2 separate regions of the Homo sapiens genome follow, and region 1 is linked to region 2. Evidence: promoter capture Hi-C in human tissues and cell types (Jung and others, 2019). All regions are on one chromosome and are shown on one strand. The core of a region is centred on a gene start or on the middle of the fragment in contact, and the rest is flanking DNA. Distances in the headings are between cores, read along the strand shown.

Evidence for each region. Contacts are between HindIII fragments. The study calls those that stand out against the background at their distance.
Region 1: a fragment that was not itself captured here is called in contact with the fragment with the promoter of UGT1A6 in region 2 in 2 of the 25 tissues and cell types used here (pancreas and psoas muscle).

The regions. Positions count from the first base shown.
Region 1 is chr2:233,656,377-233,663,581 of GRCh38, reverse strand. All of the region lies in intron 1 of UGT1A8 (UDP glucuronosyltransferase family 1 member A8), which reads right to left. All of the region lies in intron 1 of UGT1A10 (UDP glucuronosyltransferase family 1 member A10), which reads right to left. It also overlaps UGT1A. Among named protein-coding and RNA genes, the nearest start is that of UGT1A9, 12 kb to the left of the region's middle. The HindIII fragment of the contact is 7,367 bases long and covers 1-7,205 here.
Region 2 is chr2:233,691,084-233,698,524 of GRCh38, reverse strand. UGT1A6 (UDP glucuronosyltransferase family 1 member A6) reads right to left here and starts at 5,635. Exons shown (of 5, transcript NM_001072.4): 1 at 4,660-5,635. The coding sequence starts at 5,520. All of the region lies in intron 1 of UGT1A8 (UDP glucuronosyltransferase family 1 member A8), which reads right to left. The region is part of intron 1 of UGT1A10 (UDP glucuronosyltransferase family 1 member A10); the gene reads right to left. All of the region lies in intron 1 of UGT1A9 (UDP glucuronosyltransferase family 1 member A9), which reads right to left. It also overlaps UGT1A7 and UGT1A. RefSeq lists enhancers at 6,283-6,889, 6,890-7,441. The HindIII fragment of the contact is 31,227 bases long and covers 1-7,441 here.

The DNA of each region.
Region 1 (7,205 bases), core at 2,336-4,835, 33 kb after region 2:
CAGATGGAGGTTACGAGATTCTGACCCTCCCTAAACCACTCCTAAGATCAGTGCTTGAGACATTTTGCAGACCCTGTCCTTGATGGATCAGCTGGCACCACCCAGATCAATAAACTGGCTCATCTGCTCTTGTGGCCCCCACCCAGGAACTGATTCAGTGCAAGAAGACAGCTTCAACTGCCTAAGATTTCATCCCTGACCAATCAGCACTCCTGGATTACTGGATTCCCCCAACCCACCAAGTATTCCTTAAAAACTGTTCCCCAAATTGCTTGGGGAGACTGATTTGAGTAATAATAAAACTCCGGTCTACCACACGGCTAGTTCTGCATTAATTACTCTTTCTCTATTGCAATTCCCCTGTCTTGTTATATTGACTCTGTCTAGGCAGCAGGCAAGGTGAATCCCCCGGGTGGTTACACCAGGGCTTGGAGGAGAGGGGAATGGGCAATTATTGTTTAATGGGTCCCAAGCTTCAGTTTGGGAAGATGAAGAGAGTTCTGCAGATGAATGGTGGTGTTGGTTGCACAGCAATGTGAATACACTGGATACTGAACTGTGCACCTAAAGTGGTGAAGATGACAAGGTTTATGCTATGTGTATTTCACCATAATTAATGATAAAATAAATAAGCTTTAAAAATAAATCTAAGTAACATACCATATAAATAAACTAAAACTGTATAACCATGTAGCAATCTTAATAGTTACAGAAAAAGTGTTTGACAGAGTCCAAAATTCATATCTGACAAAAAAAAAAAAAAACTCTCAGCAAACTAGGAAAAGAAGAGAAGTTTCCAAAGCTAATGAAGGGCATCTTGGAAAAACCCACAGCTAACATCATCCTTAATGGTGAAAGACTGAATGCTCCACTCCTCAGATCAGACACATGCCAAGAATGGGGGCTAATTACTACTTCCATTCAACATTGTTCTATTCAATGCAGTCAAACAAGAAAAAGAAATTTAAAATATCCAGATCTGAAAAGTAAAAGGATCTCATTCACAGTCAACATGATCATCTATGGGGAAATTCCAACAAACTCTACAACAACCTCCAAGAACAAATAAGTAAGTTTAGCATGGTTGCAGGATACAATAAGTAAAAGTTAATTTCATTTATATAAATGGTTACTCATGAACATTAAGAGTTTCAACGGTGTTGGTCCATTTATGGGCAGATTTGTTGCAATAAATATATTAGAAAATGTTATGGAGATTTGCAACAAATTGAAAAACTTGCAGATAAGCCACATAGCCTACAATAGTGAAAAAATTAAGAAAAACTTGAGTATGTCAGGAATGCCTAAAATATATATAGCAACGAGTCTATTTTATCATTTACTACCATATTATAGACACAAATCTATTTTAAATAGTTAAAATTTATCAAAACTTATGCACACAAACACTTACAGACTATACATGACACCATTTGTAGTCAAGAGAAAAGTAACAAAGGTAAGTTTGCAGCATTAAGTCATAACTGCATAGAGTTAACTGTGCCTACTGTACTATTGTGATAATTTCATAGCCACCCCCTGTTGCTATTGCAGGGAGTTCAAGTGTTGCAAGTATCCACTCAGTACGCCGTGTGAGGCTGATCATCTCCATGTGTACAGTTCATCCCTCCAGTAAATTGTGTATCACAGTAAACACTGATCTCACAGTTCTCATGCATTGTTTGTCATGTTTGGTGCATATCAGAAACTCTAAATAATACCATAGGACCCATACAAAGTGTCGCTAGTGATGCCTCAAGTGCTCCCATGAAGCAGAGAAATTCATGATATTACAAGAAAAGTTGAATTGCTTGATATGTACCATAGGTTGAGGACTGCAGCTGTGGTTGGCGATCATTAAAAAAAAAAAAAAGAATCCAGATAAGGACCTTTGTTTAAAAAGAAAGAAAGAAAGAAAGAAAGAAAGAAAGAAAGAAAGAAAGAAAGAAAGAAAGAAAATTCAGTAAGTCTTCACTGCAGTGATGCCAGCAGGCTTCAAACCTTGCACTTTTTCCAAAATATCTTTTTATCTCATATTAAAAATGCAGCTTTTCAATCTCAATGGACTCCACTGCCAAGGTAGAAAGAAGGATATTCAAAGAGTTAATGGATAAAAAGAACTAGGATTCCATCTGTGGGTTAAAGATTAATAGTGAGAAAGGTCTTACTGAGAAACTGGCAGATTTTTTAACCAAGTGAAAACTATCATATATCCTAAGTGTTTAAGGAGTCTCCTGGTGGTAATGGTAATGACAGCACCATGGTGTGCACAGCCCACACAGAGAAATAAGTTCTTTACAGCCTCATGGGAAGTCCTCTGTGCCCTATCAACAAATTCAAGACCAAAAGTAGAAAATTAAGGTAGGAAAATAGACCAGACTGTTGGGGAACGCTCACATATTTCAGAAAAAAAAAGTCTGAAACTAGAGTCATTACATCCATAGATAATTTGTCAAAGAGTAATTCTGTATCATGATTATCTACATAAAATTTTATTATAAAAAATGCAGCTTTTATGTGGGTGTAGGATGGTTATAAGAAAGGCATACCTATATACTCTAATATGACCTGAGAAAAACAAAGTCATTATATGACAACATAAAGCTAAATAAAACTGAAGGATATAAAGCTGGAGAATTTAATGGCAGCAAAGGATGGTTTGCTAGTTTTAGAAAGAGGTTTGACTTTAAAAATCTCAAGATAACAGAAGCAACTTCTGCCAAACAAGAGGTAGCAGGTGACTTCCCAGACCCCATGAAGAGAAGCATTGAGGAGAATGAATATCTGCCTGAGCCAGTTTTTAATTCATGCAAAAGTGCCCTATTCTAGAGAAAAAAAATGCCACAAAAGACATTTATAAGTAAGGAAGAGAAGCGGGCACGAGGATTTAAGCCAGGAAGAGATAGACTAACTCTGTCGTCTTATGCAAATACAGTCCAATTTATGATTAAGAATAACCTTATCTATAAAGCTGCTAATCCTTGAGCCTTTAAGGGAAAAAATAAACGCCAGCTCCCAGTCTTTTTGTTGTAGAACAAGAAGGCCAGTACAACAGAAACACTTTTTCCAAACTGGTTCCATGAAAACCAACGCTTTGTCTCTGAAATCAGAAATACCTTGCCACTAAAGGACTGTCTTTTAAATTACTTTTGATATTGGACAATGCCTCTAGCCATCCAGAACCCCATGAATTCAACACAAAAGGAGCCAAAGTGGTCTCCATGTCCTCAAACATCATCTCTAATTCAGCCATTAGAACAAGGGGTTACAAGGCACTTTAAGGCTCATTACACATGGTTTTCTATGGAAAGGATTGTCAACACTATGGAAGAGAATGTCAGCGGGGCGAACATCATGAAAATCTAGAAGGATTACACTGTGGAAGATGTCCTTGTTGTATAGAAAAAGCTGTGAAAGCCATCAAGCCCTAAACAATACATTATCGCTGCAGAAAACTGTGTCCAGATGTTGTGCGTGACTTCACAGGACTTAAAACAGAGCCAATCAAGGGACTCATGAAAGAAATTGTGGATATGGCAGGCAAGAAAAACAAGGTGGGCATAAAGAGTTTGAAGACAGAGATCTTGGAGATACTTAAAAGCTAATAGACACCACACCTGAGGAATTAACAGAAGATGACTTGATGAGATGAGTGCTTTTGAATCAGTACCAGACAATGAGGAAGAAGATACAGAAGAAGCAGTGTCAGAAAATAAATTGACATTAGACAATCTCGCAGAAGGATTCCGATTATTGAAGACTGCTTTTGACTTCTTTTGCAAATTGTACCCTTCTATGATATGGGCACTGAAACTAAAGCAAATGGTGAAGAAGAATTCATACTATATCAAGCATTTTTAAAGAACTGAAAGAGCAAAAATGTCAGACAGTAATTATGATGTATTTCCATTAAGTTAAATCGAGTGCGCCTGCCTCTCCTGCCTCCCTTTCCACCTCCTCCACCTCTTCCTCATCTGCCATCCCTGAAAAAGCAAGACCAACCCCTCCTCTTCCTCCTCAGCCTACTCAGTGGAGGACAATCAAAAGGAAGATCTTTATGATGATCCACTCCCACTTAATGAATACTTAATACATTTTTTCTCAACCCTAAAATTTTTTCTCAAACCTTAAAATTTTCTTAATAACATTTTCTTTTATCTAGCTGACTTTATTACAATAATACAGTATATAACACATAAAGCATATCAAATATGTGTTCATTGGCTATTTACGTTATTGGTAAGGCTTCTGCTATACAGTAGGCTATTAATAGTTAAGTTATGGGGGTCAAAATGATATGTGGATTTTAGACTACCTGCGAGGTTGGTATCCCTAATCTCCACATTGTTCAAGGGTCAACTGTACTAGCAATGAACAATTGCAAATTGAATGAAAATACCACTTAACATCAAAAACATGAAATACTTAGGGATAAATCTGATCAAAGATGTGAAAGACTACACTGAAAACTAAAACACTGAGGAGAGATCTGAATATAGAGATATGTTCAAGAATTGGAAAACTCAAAATTGTTAGGATGCTGTTTCTCCCCAGTTGAACTGTAACTTAAATATGATTTCAACCAAAATCCCAACAGGCTTTTTTTTGTGCAAATTGGCAAACTGACTCTAAAATTCATACAGAAATGTAGAAAACCTACAATAGCAAAAACAACTTTGAAAAAAATTAGAGAGCTAATACTACTCATTTCAAGACATTACAAAGCTATAATTATCACATATTTCACAACTGGATCAATGGAACAGAGTAGAAAGTCCAGAAATAGATGTTTAGCAGTATGAACAACCAAGTTTTTACAAAAGTGCAAAGACAATTCAGTGGAGAAAAGACTACTCTTTTCAAGAGTTGGCTATCCATAGTCAAGAAAGCAAGAAAAGACATTACCTTTGTGGTCTTACTTCCTAAAACCTATAACCCCAGTCTAACCATGATCAAAACATCAGACAAACCAAGACTGAGAAACATTCTACAGAACATCCGACCAGAACTGCTCAAAACTGTCAAAGTCATCGAAAACAAGGAAAGTCTGAAAAACTGTCACACGGTACAGGAGATGAAGGGGGCGTGATGGGCTAAATGTCATTTGGTATCCAGGATGGGATCCTAGAAATGAAAAAGGACATTAGGTAAAAATTAATGACATCTGCAGAGAACACAGACTTTAGTTCATCATAATGTATCAAATGTTGGTTAATGAGTTGTGATAATATGCTATAGTAACGTAACATTTAACCATAGGGGAGGATGGGTGCCATTGCTCACACCTGTAATCCCAGCACTTTGGGAGGCCAAGGTCCGTGGGTCTCTTGAGGTCAGGAGTTTGAGGCCAGCCTGGTCAACATGGTGAAACCCTGTGTCTACTAAAAATACAAAAATTAGCTGGGCATGGTGGTGTGCACCTGTAATCCCAGCTACTCAGGAGGCTGAGGCACAAGAATCATTTGAACCCAGGAGGCAGAGGTTGCAGTGAGCCAAGATTGCCCCACTGCACTCCAGCCTGGGTGACAGAGTGACACTTTGTCTCAAAAAAAAAAAAAAAAAAGAGGAGGAAACTAGGCACAGGATATGAAAATTCTCTGTGCTAGTTCTTGCAACCTTGCATAAATCTAAATTTCTTCTAAAATAAAAAGTTTCATGGAAAAAAGCCCAGAAACTGATAAAGTATAAATATCCAGAATATATAAATAACTTTTAAACCTCAATAATGAAGAGAAAACCCAATTTCTTAAAAAGTGGCATAGACCTGAACATTTACCAAAGAACATATACAGATGGCAAACAGTCACACATAAAGATGCTCAACATCATATTTAAATAGGAAAATCAAATTAAAATTGCAATTTAATTTACATACCCATTAGAATAGCTGCAATCAAAAAGACTGACCATATCAAATGATATAGTTTAGATATCTGACTCCCTCAAGTCAAGTGTTGAAATTTAATCCCTAATGTTGGAGGTGGGGCTTAGTGGGAGGTATCTGGGTTACAGGGATGGATCTCTCACAAATGACCTAGTATGTTTTTCCCGATAATGGGTGAGTTCCTGTCCTATTGCTCCTGCAAGAACTGATTGTTAAAAAGATCCTGGCAACCCCTCCTTTTTCTCTTGCTTCTTTCTCACCTTGTGATCAGCACCTTCCACATTCACCTTCTGCCATGAGTGGAAGTAGCCCAAGTCTTTTGCCAGAAACAGATGTTGGTACCATGATTCTTATACAGCCTGCAGAACTGAGGGCCAGATATTATCTCTTCCTTATACATTACCCAGCCCCAGGTATTCCTTTAGAGCAACACAAAAAAACTAAACCGCCAGGTGCTTCTGAGCATGAAGAGTGGCATAAAATAAAGCCCATGAGCCAGGAAAGGTGAGATGATGGGGGACCTTGATAGCTAGTGGGGGCCAGCAGGCCACAGGGCATCACCAGAATGTCTTGAGTGGGCCAAAGAGACGGTGTATTGTGTTGGGTATCACATTCTTAGGGTAGACCAAAGGAAAGAAGCTGGTGAGGGGAAGCAGCAGTAACTGACACCAGGGATTTCATAAAGACGTAGAAAGGTTAGGTCCTAACGCAGGCGGAGGCTCCACCTGGGCTCACCTGTTTCAGGAAGACTCACAGGAAAGGAAAAAAAAAAAAGATGTTTAACTAAGGGAGATGCCACATGAAGCATGTGCGTGTTTATCTGCACATCTTAATAGGGATGCCCAGGAACGTGTAAACTGAAAAGAAAATACTAAGTGCCGCCCGTCTCCCACAACAAGTGAATCGAACCCTCCTGGCCAGCGGGACCCCAAAGAAACCTTCAAAACTGAGTCACAGCCACGACGGGACAGAAGGCTGGACACGCCTCGTCACACTCCCTCCCTTTTGTGGTTTAAACACAACTGACCCACTTTAGTGTTAAAATAGAGATGAGATGGACTCAGTGGACTTTTTGTGGCAATCAGATACAAAACTACACACAAGACCTCAAACCACGCCAGGCAAGAGTTGAGTCATGGGCGCCTACACTTAAAGAATAAACTATGTTCCAACTGCCACAGAGTTTTTCTTTTTCTCTAGCAGCTAAATAAGCACAGGTCTAGAGAAAAACAATGTTAAACAAGTGCACCTCCACCGGACACTGACTAACTGACGTCCATTCCTTGTTCCATAAGCCACAAATACTGCTTTCATTGGACAA
Region 2 (7,441 bases), core at 4,386-6,885:
TATGTATTGCCGATTATGTGATTTGCCTAATGAGGACTGCATTTTTAAGCTATAAATCAGGGCTTCATTTTCTATGATCTGTGATATATCTTCTTTTCTTAAATAATTTATTGCGATGAAGTCACATAAAATTCACCACGCTAAAGTGAACAATTTCATGGCATTCAGCACATTCATGTTTTGCAACTGACACCTCTATCTGGTTCCAGACATTTCCATCTGTCCAAAGACACATTTTTTTTCATAGTGTTGAAATGGTTTGATTATTGGACAAAAGAAATTCTATTTTGATCACTTTAATTTAATTCCTAATAATTAAAAGTGCATGTTGATAATTACATATCATAATACAGAATGTTCTCTAGGACGACATGCTGGGAATACAGTTGAGACACAAACAAGGTCAAGCACCAGATACAGGGTCACAGGGCTCAAAAAGTACATTCATTAGAGCCCAGTTTCTCAATATAACTGAGTACAACTTTTTGAAAAAATAAGATAATTGGTACCAATGTGCAGAAATGATATTTTTTCCTTCTTACACCAAATATTTCTTTGTAATAAGAATAAATAGCTTTCATTTACTTTTTTCCAATACCCTAGACTTCTAGGAGAAGGAGTCAATAGATTTGATTCAATCAATGGTAAGAAATCATTAAATAAATGCATAACTTTTGCTTACTAACTTCTTAATTAGATTTTCTTGAAATTAAAAAGAAAATTTAAAAATTACTTGAAACGAATGAAAATGGAAACACAATGTATCAAAATCTATGGGCTATAGCAAAACCAGAACTAAGAGAGAAGTTTTTAACAATAAATGCCTACATCCAAAAAGCAGAAATATTTTGAATAAACAACCTAAGAATGCACCTCAAGGAACTAAAAAAGCAAAAGTAAACCAAACTCAAACTTTGTAGAAGGAAAGAAATAATAAAGATCAGGGAAAAAATAAATTAAATTGAGGCTAAATAAACAATGCAAAGACCAATGAAACAAAAAGTTTTTTAAAAAAAAAAAAAGATAAACAAAATTGGCAAACCTTGAGCTAGACTAAGAAAAAGAGAAAACACTCAGATAAAATCAGAAATGAAAAAGGAAACACAGCAACTGACACCACAGAAATACAAAGGATCATTAGCGATTATTGTGAACTCTATATGCCAACAAATTAGAAAACCTAGAGGAAATGGATACATTTCCAAACACAAACAATCTACCAAGATTGAATGAAGAAGAAATAGAAAACCTCAACAAACCAATATAAGTAACAAGATTGAAGCAGTAATAAAAAGTCTCTCATCAAAGAAAAGCCCAGGACCAGATGGATTCACTGCTGAATTCTACCAACCATTTTTAAAAGAATTAATACCAGTTCCACTCAAACTATTACAGAAAAATGAAGAGGAGAGAATACTTCCAAACTCATCCTGTGAGACCAGTGTTACCCTGATACCAAAACCAGACAAGGACACAACAAAAAAAAAGAAAACTGCGGGCCCATATCTCTGACGAACATAGATGCAAAAATCTCAACGAAACACCAGCAAACCAAATCCAATAATATGTTAAAAAGATAATTAATCCTGATGCATTTATTGATATATTGATATGAATACATTGACAGAATTTAGGACAGAACTCATATGTTGTAGATGCTGAAAAAACATTCAACAAAATTCAACGTCCCTTTATGATACACACTCTCAATAAACTGGCTACAGAAGGAACATACCTCAAAACAATAAAATCCATATATGATAAATCCACAGCTAACATCATACTGAAAAGGGTAAAACTGAAAACTGTTCCTCTAAAATCTGGAATAAGACAAAGATGCTGACTGTCAGCACTGTTATTCTTCATAGTACTGGAAGTCCTATCCAAAGCAATTAAGCAAGAGAAAGAAAGAAAGAAAGGGCATCCAAGTTGGAAAGGAAGAAGTCAAATTATTCTTGTTCTCAGATGACATAATATATTCAGAAAAATTTAAACATTCCACCCAAAAGCTGTTAGAACTGACAAGCAAATTCGGTAAAGTTGCAGTATACAAGATCAACTTACAAAAATCAGTAGCATTTATAAATGCCAACAGAGAAAAAACTGAAAAGGAAATCAACCCCATTTACAAAACGTACAAAGAATATATAATACCTAGGAATAAATTTAAGGAAGGAAGTGAAAGATCTGTATAAGGAAATGAGGATGAAGACCAAATATATATTTCACGATATTACAGTCCTACGTTTTCTTTATCCATTCATTCACTGATGTGTGCTTAGGTTGATTCCATATTTTGGCTACTGTGAATAGTGCTATAATAAACATGGGAGTGCAGATAGCTCTTCAATATATATTTTTTTCTTTTGGATATATACCCAGCAATGGGATATATTGGGGCAGTTCTAGTTCTTTTTGTTTTGTTTTGTTTTGAAGACTCTCCATACTGTTCTTCATAGTGGCTGTACTAATTTACATTCTTCAAATGTAAATTAGGGACTGAGCCCCATGTCTGTGGGACCTGATGCTATCTTCAGGTGGACATCTTCAGAACTGAATTAGAGGACACCCAGCTGGTATCTGGCAGAATTGCCTGCTTGCTTGGTGTGTGGAGAAAAAAAACCCCACACATTTGTTCACTGAAGTTTTCTGCGTTGTTTGTTGTTGAGTGAGAAAACAGGAAAAACCCTTTGAGTTTTTTGTTGGTTTTGTTTTCCACTCACAGATAGTACATATACAGAATGGAAAATTATTCAGCCATAAAAAAGGATGAAGACCTGTCATGTGCAGCAACATAAATGTAACTGGAAGTCATTATGTTAGGTGAAATAATCTAGGCACAGAAAGACAAATACCACATGTTCTCATTTATATGTGGAGCTAAAAAAGTGGGTCTCATGGAGGTAGAGAGTTCATTGGTAATTACCAGAAGGTGGAAAGGGTAAGTAGGGAAGGGGGGGTGAAAATGGTTGGTTAAAATTTAAAAAAGAAAAAGAAAAAAGAAATAAAATTTGTAATACTCCAAAAACTTTGATAGAAAAGAGAAAAACATCTAAAGGGCCAATAAAGCACGTTGATCAAAAAAAAAAGAAGAAGAAGAAGGCCGGGCGCGGTAGCTCACGCCTGTAATCCCAGCACTTTGGGAGGCTGGGGTGGGCGGACCACGAGGTCAAGAGATTGAGACCATCCTGGCCAACGTGGTGAAACCCCGCCTCTACTAAAAATGCAAAAATTAGCTGGGAATGGTGGCACATGCCTATAGTCCCAGCTACTCAGGAGGCTGAGGCAGGAGAATCGCTTGAACCCAGGAGGTGGAGGTTGCAGTGGGCTGAGATCGCACCACTGCACTCCAGCCTGATGACAGAGTGAGACTCTGTCTCAAAAAAAAAAAAAAGAAAAGAAAAGGGTTGGTTAATGGGCACAAAAACACCATTAGATAGAATGAGTAAGTCCAAAGTGCGATAGCACAGTAGGGTGACTATGGTTAACAAGAATGTATACTGCAGTTCAAAATAGCTAGAAATGAAGAATGGGAATGTTCCCAACATAAGGAAGGAATAAATGTTCAAGGTGATGGATATCTCAATTACCCTGATTTGATCATCGCACATTGTATACGTGTATCAAAATATCACATGAACCCCCCAAATGTGTACAACTATATTATGTCCCAATTAAAAGAATCCTGACATTCTATGTTTTTATTTCATGCCCCAGAATCCCTGGAACCATTTCAGTTATCCCCATCCCCTCACCCTTGCCTTTTCACAGTGGCTACTGCCAACTGTTCAAATTGTTAACAGAGAAATCAGCAGGTGTAAAGAAGAGAGGTAAGGGTCTTTGGGACCTGTTTGAGGCTTTCTCTCTGATAAAAAAGGAACTGGAAAAGAAAATTGAGGCATAAAAGATAGAGGGAGTTGCCTGAAGCCCTTCAAAGTTGTAAATATTTACATTGAAATTTAAAACTCACAGATTTTTATTTTCCAAAGTAACTCTGGGCCCTTTTCCTACATGTCAGGAGGGCATCTGTAAACACTTGTCTTAGGTCAGAGGCCATACCCCTTTTGCTGAAAAGGCCAGTCAGTAAATGTGTAGGCTTTGCAGACCAAATACTTCTGTGGCACATATTCTTCATTGTTAAATTGTTTTAAAACTACAAAAACCATTCTTAGCTCTGGGCCATATAAAAACAGGTCTCAACATAAAAGGAAAAAAAAAAACAAAAAACAGGCCTTTGGGCAGATTGGGCTCACAGGCTGTAGTTCGCTGGTCCCTGGCTCAAGGTCCAGAGACAAAGCATGGGACAGAGTTGGGAAAATGGATTTTAACCTGGACCTGTTCCCTTAGTCAAGCCTTCACCTCTGTTTGAACTGGGACATTTCTAAGGCTCATTCAATGAGTATGTGACTGTCCCAGATTATCCAACTAAGCAAATCTCCTACTCTTGCCAAGCATGAGCCCTGTCTTCATCCGAATGCCTCTGTATCACTTCAGCCTCAGGTCTCCTATGTGTTCCCGCTGCTCCGAGCCGGGTATCACTTCCCCCCACCGTTTCTCCAGGAAATCCTCCAAGGGACAGTCGGCTCAAGGAGCCAAATGAGTGAGGGAGGACAGAGCCTGGAAGAAACAAGGCAGTCCAAAAGAAATAAACCCACCAACCTGAGACAAGTCTTTCCTCTTCTTACAGTTGATACCTCCAATGAAGACCATGTTGGGCATGACCGGCCTAGGATATTCAAGCACAAAGTCATATCTTAACAGCCAAACAGAGACCTTCTGATATAAGGTGATTATATCCACATCTCTCTTGAGGACAGCTGATGCGAGTTCTTCATACTTTGAAAACAGACAATAAAATAGATAGGGCTCCAACAAATTAACAAGGAAGTTGGCCACTCGTTGGGAAAAAGTCATGTGGTCTGAAAACTTTGTGTAGCACCTGGGAATGTAGGACACAGGGTCTGGGCTTCTGCTGAATGTATGCTCCAGGGAACACGGAAAACCCCTGAAGAGGTACACAGATGGTAGGCCCAAATACTCAGCCAGGATCACCCCACAGGGTAAGGCTGGGTCTGTGAAAAGAGCATCAAACTTGCTCTCCTTAAAGAAGTTCAGGGTGTCCCTGTCCTGCAGGAGGCTCTGGCAGTTGATGAAGTACAGGCCAATAACAATCATGTTATTCCTGTACTCTGTCTGAGGAGCAGTTAGGAATGATCGCTCAGCAAAGTGATTGTTTCCAAATGATTGGTAACGGTTCTTCAGCTCTTCTTGGTCATACGGCACTGGATAGATTTTTCTTGTGTAGTATTTGGATTCTTTCAAAAGCAAATTAACTTCAGGCACCACCACTACAATCTCATGACCCCGGTCACTGAGAACCTCAACTATATCCTTCATACTAAGCCAGTGGCTTCCGTCCTGAGGGACCACCAGCAGCTTGTCACCTACAACCATGCCCCAAAGTGCTAAGAAGAAAACCCCTGCAGAAATTCTCTGAAATGAGCGAAGGAGGCAGGCCATCCTGGAAAGAGTTAAAGTAACAACGGTAATAAAGAGTTTTCACTCTCCAAATCACAGGGCTCCTAGGTATTTTCCCTAAACTAACCACTGCTTTTCACAGGTCCTGTCTACCTCTCCCTTGCTCTGAATTTTACCCTTTGATATGTAAGAACCCAAATTAATATTTAACCATTTTAATCACATGGTTAATATGAACCAACTATGGCCGTGTCAGCTTTCACCTGAGCTTCTGGGTGTTTCTCTTCAGCTCCACAAGTCTGCTTCTCCCTCTCTGAAAAGTTATAGCAACACTTTGAAGATGACTTGGAGAGACCCCTGAGGACCCCCTGCCAATTCTCTATCCCGAACTTGCTGGATTCCTCATCATTGACGTTGTCTGTTATGTCCATGATGTGCGGGAATTTTTCTTGCACACGGACCTATTCTCTAACACCAGCTGGGTATCCTACAATTCAATTCCATTCTGAACTGAATTCTGAGTTAGCACGGACCCCACAGGTTAAGGGCTCAGTCCTACAAGACTGCCCTCACTTCAGACACCAATTGCAAGTAGTAGGTCCCCAGGTTACCCACAACTTCTGTCTGACTTGGCAAAAATCAGAGGTTCACACACCCTCTTTCTTGGAGTCAATCATTTGCTAGAATGGCTCACAGAACTGAAGAAAACAGTTTATTTACTAGGTTTGGTTTATTACAAAGGATATTGCAAACAATACGGATGAATAGCCAGAGGAAAAAGTACAAAGAACAAGATATGGGGGTATGGCCATGGAGCCCCATCTGCCATCTCTGGGTGCCCCACCCTCCACACCTTCAGCAACCTGAAAGCTCTCTGAACCCTGCCCTTCTGAGTTTTTATGTAGGCTTCCATACATAGTAGGCATGATTGATTAGATTGTTGCCCATCGGTGATCAAATCAATCTTCAATCTCTCTCTCCTTTCTTCCCTCTAATCGCAAGGGTTTTGTTCCCTGGCAACTAGCCCTCATCCTTAGAGACTTTACATCTCCTTTACATAAACTTAGGTGTGATCGAAAGGGATCTGTTTTGAATAACAAAAGATTCTTTGTTCACGTTTATCGCTCCCACCACTTATGGTTTCAGGAGCTGTGTCCAGGAAACAAAGACAAACATATATTTCTTATTATACATCACAATATAACAACATTCAAACTGTTACTTGCCTTTAGGAAATTAAGATTTGAGAAGTATAAGTCTAGCCAGTACGTGGTGAGAATCCTAGAGCAGGAGTCAGAAAGCCTGGTATCTGCTTCTGGCCCAGCCACCCATCTGCCAGGGGAGTGACTCCTCTCCTGAGCTTCAGGTTTCTCAACTGAGGCCCAGAAAGGGAGGGTCACACTGGCCCTGCCTGCTAACCACACTGCTGAGGGCGGTCCCAGAGCAAGACCTGTGTAGAAACTAGGCTGTCCCAGTGAGAGGTGGTACCTTGAATTACTAGAACAGACTTGCCCAGAGCTAGTCATGCACACCTGGCTGGCACGCGAGTTCCTGTTCCCACCCACAAGTTTGGCACCGGAGGTGTTCTGGGGCCCAGGAAGGGAGAAGAAGCCTGAGCAACATGATTAGAGGGGCCACTCCAAGGACAGGGCTGGCCCCCATGGGGAACATAACCAGGATGCAAATTCATTGTTCAAGGCATGCGAAGACTCAGCTCAGTCCAAGCTGGGAGCAGCCTCCCAAGAGGATTGGCAGCTTACAATGATCAAAGTCATGGGGGCGGCAGCATCTTGCTTTGAGTTCATCTAGATAGCAATAAGACTCCAGGAAGGTTGCAAAGGGAACAGAGCTCAGGTCCACCTTCTTGAGCAGGCAGACATTAGGCAGGTTTCCTTCAAAGAACAGTTCATCTAGAGGAAGAATGGCTTAAGCAAGCATGTAGGAATAGCGGGATCAAGAGATG